Regions from separate parts of the Homo sapiens genome. Here all the other regions are linked to region 1. The links are contacts of gene promoters, found by promoter capture Hi-C in blood cells and fetal thymus (Javierre and others, 2016). All regions are on one chromosome and are shown on one strand. Each heading gives the region's core, a stretch centred on a gene start or on the middle of the fragment in contact. The rest is flanking DNA. Distances are from core to core; before and after follow the strand shown.

The links. Contacts are between HindIII fragments. The CHiCAGO score rates a contact against its expected background, and 5 or more counts as called.
Region 2: the fragment with the promoter of CCNT2-AS1 here is called in contact with the fragment with the promoter of CXCR4 in region 1 in 1 of 17 cell types (fetal thymus); the score reaches 7.5 in fetal thymus.
Region 3: a contact is called between the fragment with the promoter of RAB3GAP1 here and the fragment with the promoter of CXCR4 in region 1, in 2 of 17 cell types (fetal thymus and monocytes). The highest score is 5.7, in fetal thymus.

The regions. Positions count from the first base shown.
Region 1 is chr2:136,116,835-136,119,422 of GRCh38, reverse strand. It overlaps CXCR4 (C-X-C motif chemokine receptor 4), which reads left to right and starts at 1,274. Exons shown (of 2, transcript NM_003467.3): 1 at 1,274-1,377. The coding sequence starts at 1,363. RefSeq lists an enhancer at 2,283-2,352 and a silencer at 2,483-2,588. The HindIII fragment of the contact is 7,141 bases long and covers 840-2,588 here.
Region 2 is chr2:134,917,295-134,919,882 of GRCh38, reverse strand. CCNT2-AS1 (CCNT2 antisense RNA 1) reads left to right here and starts at 1,277. Exons shown (of 5, transcript NR_036549.1): 1 at 1,277-1,320. CCNT2 (cyclin T2) reads right to left here and starts at 1,061. Exons shown (of 9, transcript NM_058241.3): 1 at 871-1,061; 2 at 1-73. The coding sequence starts at 1,028. RefSeq lists enhancers at 462-551, 762-1,031, 1,182-1,341, 1,419-2,092, 2,102-2,151 and a silencer at 1,352-1,421. The HindIII fragment of the contact is 7,926 bases long and covers 1-2,588 here.
Region 3 is chr2:135,050,999-135,053,586 of GRCh38, reverse strand. RAB3GAP1 (RAB3 GTPase activating protein catalytic subunit 1) reads right to left here and starts at 1,295. Exons shown (of 24, transcript NM_012233.3): 1 at 1,262-1,295; 2 at 1,102-1,157. The coding sequence starts at 1,279. RefSeq lists an enhancer at 583-722. The HindIII fragment of the contact is 10,130 bases long and covers 1-2,588 here.

The DNA of each region.
Region 1 (2,588 bases), core at 25-2,524:
CCAGCTATCTCCGCAGCGGCCACCCCGCCTGCGGACGCAGTTTCTCGGCCCCGCCCCACACTCGCTCCCCCGCCCCACCCAGTCTCCGCGCCGGAGGGAAGTGGCGCGAGGGGGAAAGCACTGTCTGCGCGCCCACTGCAAACCTCAGCCAGTCTGAGATCGCTTTAAACGTCTGACCCCCACCCCCACTCCGCCCCGCCCAGTTCTTCAACCTAATTTCTGATTCGTGCCAAAGCTTGTCCTCTGCTCAAAATCGTGGAAGACGCCGAGTATGGGGACCGAAGACCTGGGTTCAAGCCCGGCTTGGAATCCCTGCCCATCCCTGGCATTTCATCTCTCCGGGCTTATTTGCTGGTTTCTCCGAATGCGGGCCTTGTCTGGTTCACGCTGGATCCCCAACGCCTAGAACAGTGCGTGGCACGCAGTTCGTCCTTCTATAAATATCGGACTAAATGCATCTCTGTGATGGTAATACCCACACGGTGTTGTGAGAATGAATGAGTGATTCTGTGCAAGTTCCTAGTGATCTGTTACAAAAAGTACTGGTCGCTAAATTACTCTTATAATAAAGCATACTTTTAGGATAATAAAGCACTATTCGCGAATTGGTTACCGCTATTATGAAATTACTGAGCAATACATATCTACATCTGATCAGTCTCCAGAATTATGCCAAATCCTACCTTCTTCTGAAAGTATCTCCTAATTATCTGCACCTGACCCTAGTGATGCTGTGAATGTGCAAGTATAGCTACATCCTCCGAAGGAAGGATCTTTACTCCTTTTACCTCCTGAATGGGCTGCGTCTGCTGAAAGCGCGGGGAATGGCGTTGGAAGCTTGGCCCTACTTCCAGCATTGCCGCCTACTGGTTGGGTTACTCCAGCAAGTCACTCCCCTTCCCTGGGCCTCAGTGTCTCTACTGTAGCATTCCCAGGTCTGGAATTCCATCCACTTTAGCAAGGATGGACGCGCCACAGAGAGACGCGTTCCTAGCCCGCGCTTCCCACCTGTCTTCAGGCGCATCCCGCTTCCCTCAAACTTAGGAAATGCCTCTGGGAGGTCCTGTCCGGCTCCGGACTCACTACCGACCACCCGCAAACAGCAGGGTCCCCTGGGCTTCCCAAGCCGCGCACCTCTCCGCCCCGCCCCTGCGCCCTCCTTCCTCGCGTCTGCCCCTCTCCCCCACCCCGCCTTCTCCCTCCCCGCCCCAGCGGCGCATGCGCCGCGCTCGGAGCGTGTTTTTATAAAAGTCCGGCCGCGGCCAGAAACTTCAGTTTGTTGGCTGCGGCAGCAGGTAGCAAAGTGACGCCGAGGGCCTGAGTGCTCCAGTAGCCACCGCATCTGGAGAACCAGCGGTTACCATGGAGGGGATCAGTGTAAGTCCAGTTTCAACCTGCTTTGTCATAAATGTACAAACGTTTGAACTTAGAGCGCAGCCCCTCTCCGAGCGGGCAGAAGCGGCCAGGACATTGGAGGTACCCGTACTCCAAAAAAGGGTCACCGAAAGGAGTTTTCTTGACCATGCCTATATAGTGCGGGTGGGTGGGGGGGGAGCAGGATTGGAATCTTTTTCTCTGTGAGTCGAGGAGAAACGACTGGAAAGAGCGTTCCAGTGGCTGCATGTGTCTCCCCCTTGAGTCCCGCCGCGCGCGGCGGCTTGCACGCTGTTTGCAAACGTAAGAACATTCTGTGCACAAGTGCAGAGAAGGCGTGCGCGCTGCCTCGGGACTCAGACCACCGGTCTCTTCCTTGGGGAAGCGGGGATGTCTTGGAGCGAGTTACATTGTCTGAATTTAGAGGCGGAGGGCGGCGTGCCTGGGCTGAGTTCCCAGGAGGAGATTGCGCCCGCTTTAACTTCGGGGTTAAGCGCCTGGTGACTGTTCTTGACACTGGGTGCGTGTTTGTTAAACTCTGTGCGGCCGACGGAGCTGTGCCAGTCTCCCAGCACAGTAGGCAGAGGGCGGGAGAGGCGGGTGGACCCACCGCGCCGATCCTCTGAGGGGATCGAGTGGTGGCAGCAGCTAGGAGTTGATCCGCCCGCGCGCTTTGGGTTTGAGGGGGAAAACCTTCCCGCCGTCCGAAGCGCGCCTCTTCCCCACGGCCGCGAGTGGGTCCTGCAGTTCGAGAGTTTGGGGTCGTGCAGAGGTCAGCGGAGTGGTTTGACCTCCCCTTTGACACCGCGCAGCTGCCAGCCCTGAGATTTGCGCTCCGGGGATAGGAGCGGGTACGGGGTGAGGGGCGGGGGCGGTTAAGACCGCACCTGGGCTGCCAGGTCGCCGCCGCGAAGACTGGCAGGTGCAAGTGGGGAAACCGTTTGGCTCTCTCCGAGTCCAGTTGTGATGTTTAACCGTCGGTGGTTTCCAGAAACCTTTTGAAACCCTCTTGCTAGGGAGTTTTTGGTTTCCTGCAGCGGCGCGCAATTCAAAGACGCTCGCGGCGGAGCCGCCCAGTCGCTCCCCAGCACCCTGTGGGACAGAGCCTGGCGTGTCGCCCAGCGGAGCCCCTGCAGCGCTGCTTGCGGGCGGTTGGCGTGGGTGTAGTGGGCAGCCGCGGCGGCCCGGGGCTGGACGACCCGGCCCCCCGCGTG
Region 2 (2,588 bases), core at 28-2,527, 1.2 Mb after region 1:
GAATTTGGTGAAAGAATGGTGCATATAAAACCTGTGCATATAAACAATCGCAGTGTTTATTGTAAGCTGAGAGCTGGAACGTAATATTTAGGAAATATCTGACAAAAGCAAGATCTCATTCCCAGAACAATTTTGATGGAAAATTCCCAGGTTCTTTTCCAATACCTCCCATTCAAATCCAAACCCCAAACTGGAAATAAAGAAATAAATGCCCGCGGGGGGTGGGGCGGCAGGAAGAGAATAGGCTTGACGCCAAATAAATGGGAATAAGAACTGCTGATCTTTTCACTCTAACAGCGCTGAGGGCCCTGGAACTATTTATCAATGGCTACGACTAACTAAACTCAAAATGAAACAGTTGAAACGCGCGCGCACACACCCATACAAAACCACGCCAAGAACATAAAGAACTCCAGTACGCTCCCAAGGTAGAAGAGAGCCGCCATCAAGCCGGCGACGAGAGCCGGGAAAGGCTGCGGCAAACACTTAGGCCTTTCAGCATCGCTAACCCTCCTACCTCTCAAACCCTTCGGGGTCAGGGACAAGTCCAGGGAGCCGCCCCTTTTCTGCAATAATCCCTAAAATTCCTCTTTCGCCTGAGCCACACTCCCAACCCCCGCCGCCACCACCACGCGCTGCCCCAAACAGATTACACAACGCAGGCTCCTGGCCCGCATTCCTGGGGTCCTATCTCCTCCTCCCTTCCTCTGCTGACCCCTCGCGACTGCCCGAGCCGGAACATTACTTCCCTGACCGCGGCGCCGAGGCCCAGCGAAGGCCGAGGCCGGCGGCGCCATGTTCGCGGGGCACCAGGCCCGGCGACCGGGCAAGGGAAACAGGGCGTGAGCGGCGGCGAACAGAAAAGGATACACATTGAGACGCTGTCCCATCTCCTGGATGAGGTTGGCCGCCTGCTGGCGGCACGAGAGCTCTTTATCCGCCTCCACTCCGCAGCGGCGGCTCGGCGTGTTCTCCAGCTGTTCCCGAGTAAAGAACCAGCGAGAAGAAGCTCCACGGCCCGACGCCATGACACTTCCTCCTCCGCCCGCTCCTTCATTCACCCCCCGCCCCTCCTGGCTCGCGGACTCCCCGCCAAGGCGCGCGACCCCGCCCCACTCCGCTCGCCGTAGACCACGCACCACCCTTTTTCACCACCGCCTCCGCCCTTGCGCATGCGCGGGGCCCGCTCTACCGACTCGCCCTAGTCTTTTGCTTTCTTTTTCTGCCCTCGGCCTCGCTCTTGCGCACGGGACCACAATGCTCCGCGCCGCTTGTCATTGGGAGGCGCCGAAGGTGGAGAGGTCGGCTCGGAAGGAAAAGGTCGGCGCAGCGCATGCCGGGTCTAGGGTTGGCGGGGCGAAGGGGTGGGGAGGGAAGGGGCGGGGAGGGGAGGGGAGGGGAAAGTGGGAGAGGGTGGACTCTGGCCGGTGTGAAGAGAGGCGGTCGGGCGGCTGCGCTGTGGGGGCCTGGGCGTGTACTTCGGAGGCCCGTCGGGCGCTTCCTTTAGACGGGAGGTCTAGCGGCCCTTTAAAAAGAGAAAAATAACCTTCACTGTCGCAGCCTCACGCCACTACTTCCATTTTCCTTTTGGGCGGGTCCGCGCAGTCTCGTAGGCGTGCGACTCCGGCCTCCGCCACCAACAGTCTCCGCCTAGCGCGCGGCTCTGGCGTTGAGCTGGCGGGGAAAGAGTGCACAGGAAGTCACGCTCCATGGCTGTCCGCACCTGAGTGCTTTTTTCACCCTACATTATCTTGTTTAAATCCCAGACCACTTGGTTTATTTTTATTTTTTCAAATTACTTGGCAAACGCTATCCAACTAGCAACGAGAAATTGAATTTCTAAATGAGGTGTTGAATCTAGACGGGGCGTGTTTTCAGGCTGCGCTGTGGTTTCTGCGAGACAAGGTTGGGGAGAATCAGATAGTGCAGGAGGAACTGAGTTAAAATTTTATCTTTAGGATTTGATGTGGGAACATCCCACATACCTGTTGATTAACTCCTGTATTTCTTCCTGTAAGAAAATGCCACTGAGCTTCACTCGGAGTTTGTGTTGTGAATAGGGTTTCTAAGTTTAAAGTCTTAACTATTTGGAGGCCGGGCACGGTGGCTCACGCCTGTAATCTCAGCACTTGGGGAGGTCCAGTGGGCCGATCACTTGAGGTCAGGAGTTCGAGGGCAAGGGCAACATGGCGATACCCCGTCTCTACCAAAAATACAAAAATTAGCCAGGTTTGGTGGCGCGCCTGTAGTCCCAGCTACTCCCGAGGCTGAAGTGGGAGGATGGCTTGAGCCCAGGAGGTGGAGGCTGCGGTGAGCTAGATCTCGCTGCTGCACCCCAGCTTGGGCGATAGTGCAAGACCTTGTCTCGAAAATAAAAAATAAAGTAATATCTATTTGCCAAAGACCATGGAGGCAAGTGATTGTTATGGGGCTCCCACGCTCAGCATACTGCATTGCACAAGAATATTGATTATAGTAGGCAGTTTTTGTAACAGTTGCTATTTCATACTCACTTCCCTTGCTTTACGTTTTATGTTGCTTACAATTTCTGGAATAGATTGATTTAAAGCAACATTTTAAAAGTGCAA
Region 3 (2,588 bases), core at 46-2,545, 1.1 Mb after region 1:
AATGACACGACATCCACAAATTTCCTCTCCCAACCAGAAAGATTATAAAATGCTGTAACAGCGTAAACACTGACTTCAACACCCAGGAAACTGAAGGGTTTCTGTGACACTTAACAGAAACCTTCTCGATCTAAGCTATCACTCCTCCACAAACTTGGCTTTCAACTAATTTCAGTAATAGAACAGTTTCACCCAGACAGCTGTTCATCTGAATTTGACAGGCACAGGAAGCCTGGGCACAGTACCCACTTTAATGTAACAACTTAAATCAAAGCATTCCAAAACCATATGCAGACTTTTTAAAAAGGTTATTCTAAAAGACAGGATGGGCGGAGGCTCACGCCTGTAATCTCAGCACTTTGGGCGGCCCAGGCTTGAGCCCAGGAGTTCAAGACTAGCCTGGGCAACACAGCGAGATCTTTAAAAAATTAGTTGGGCGTAATAGCGCGTGCCTGTGGTCCCAGCTCCTCCCGAGGCTAAAGCGGGAGCTTCACTTGAGCCTAGGAGTTCGAGGCCGCAGTAAGCTATGACCTCGCCACTGCACTCCGGCCTGGGCGGACAGACTGAGACTCTGTCTCCAAAAATAAATAAAAATAAAAAATTAAAGACAGCATGGAGATGGTGGGAGTGTGACAGATGGACAACTACCAATACTCTGAAGAAAGACTTCCTCCTGAAAAGGGTATACCAACGTACACGGGATGAGGTGCGGCACAACCTACCAAGTTTACTGCTTACGATAATGAGTTAAACGGTAATGAAAACCGGAACGGTTGTTGCAGCCTCGGAAATTTTTCTTGCGAGTGGGTAACAACCAGAAAACCAAAGTCTAAGGGAAGCGGTCTGACAGGAGAGAAAACAAAACTTTCTGAGAGCCTGAGCCTCAGGGATTGGCTGACGGGGGCGGGCCGGGTGTTGCCAGACGCGAGACGCGGAAGAGGCTTGCGGTTGACCAAAGAAGACTGGGGGAGGAGACCCGGGACCCACGGTATTACCGTTCCCGCACAAGTGGCGTCACTTGTGGTGTGTCTGGGGTCAGGGAAGCGGCTAGGGGACGCCAGGGCCCATGGGAGCTGGTAACCAAAAATGCGATTCACTCACCTTTCCCATTCCGAGGCAGTGGTGAAGTCCGTGATCTCAAATACCTCGGATTCGGGCTGCGGGAAGGGGAAGGAGAGAAAAAGAAATTAAGCCCCAAGGCGAAGACATGAGGAACGAATTTAGATAGTGACAAGGATTAAGTAGGGAGCAAAGAAATCACCTCACTGTCGGCAGCCATCTTGAGGAGCGCCGGGCCTGGCGCTAAGGCTGCCGGGAAGAAGAGCGAAAGAGAACGGGGCGCGTCCCCGCCCCCGGAGCCCCCGCCCCCTGTTCATGAGTCTTGCCCTAGTAAGTAGGAGTGCTGCTTCTTCGCCCAGGTCTGTTAAGTCTTTAGTCCGCCCTCAGCTGGTTAATAAAACTCCGCTCTAGCTGGTTTCATAAAACTTGAAAATTTCCTGTGATGAATACAGAAAGGGAACAGAAGCCAAGGTGATAGGACAAGACCCTAAACTCATGTGGATAAGATTGTATTAAAAAACCTAAAGCATGTTGGGTTTGTTTTCATTCAACCCATATTTGTAGTTAGTACCAATTAGCTTACACTTTAACTATTGGGTTTCTTTTCATTCACCCTCTATTTATTGATTGTAAGGCAATAAACTAGGTGCTGTAATACCACTTCTACCCTCTGCCCCTGACCCTGCAAGAAGTTGCTCAGTTGATTGTCCTGAAATAAAATCATACTAGTTACCTGGTTTCTGGGAAGAGCAACATGGTGTTCAACAAACGCTTCATTTTTTTTTTTTTTTTTTTTTTTTTTTTTTTTTTTTTGAGACGGAGTCTTGCTCTGTCGCCCAGGCTGGAGTGCAGTGGCACGATCTTGGCTCACTGCAAGCTCCGCCTCCCGGGTTCACGCCATTCTCCTGCCTCAGCCTCCCGAGTAGCCGGGACCACAGGCGCTCGCCACCACGCCCGGCTAATTTTTTGTATTTTTAGTAGAGATGAGGTTTCATCGTGTTAGCCAGGATGGTCTCGATCTCCTGACCTCATGATCTGCCCACCTCGGTTCTGTCGCCAGGCTGGAGTGCAGTGGCGCGATTTCGGCTCACTGCAATCTCTGCCTCCTGGGTTCAAGTGATTCTCATGCCTCAGCCTCCCGAGTAGCTGGGATTACAGGCATGCGCCACAACACCCAGCTAATTTTTGTATTTTTGGTAGAGATGGGGTTTCACCATGTTGGCCAGGATGGTCCCGATCTCCTGACCTTGTGATCCGCCCCCCTCGGCCTCCCAAAGTGCTGGGATTACAGGTGTGAGCCACTGTGCCTGGCCTTGTCTTTATTTTAACACCTTCAAGTTATTTATATATATTCTGCATCTGAGCTTTATATTGTTTATATATGTAGCAAATACCTTCTCCCACTCTGCAGCTTGCTTTTTCACTATTTTTTTTTCAGACTGGTGCTCTAAAAAAGCAGACACTACAATTCCAAGCTGGCGAAGTCTCTGAAGTCCAACTGGAAGTGCTAGGGCAAAAATTATGCATCA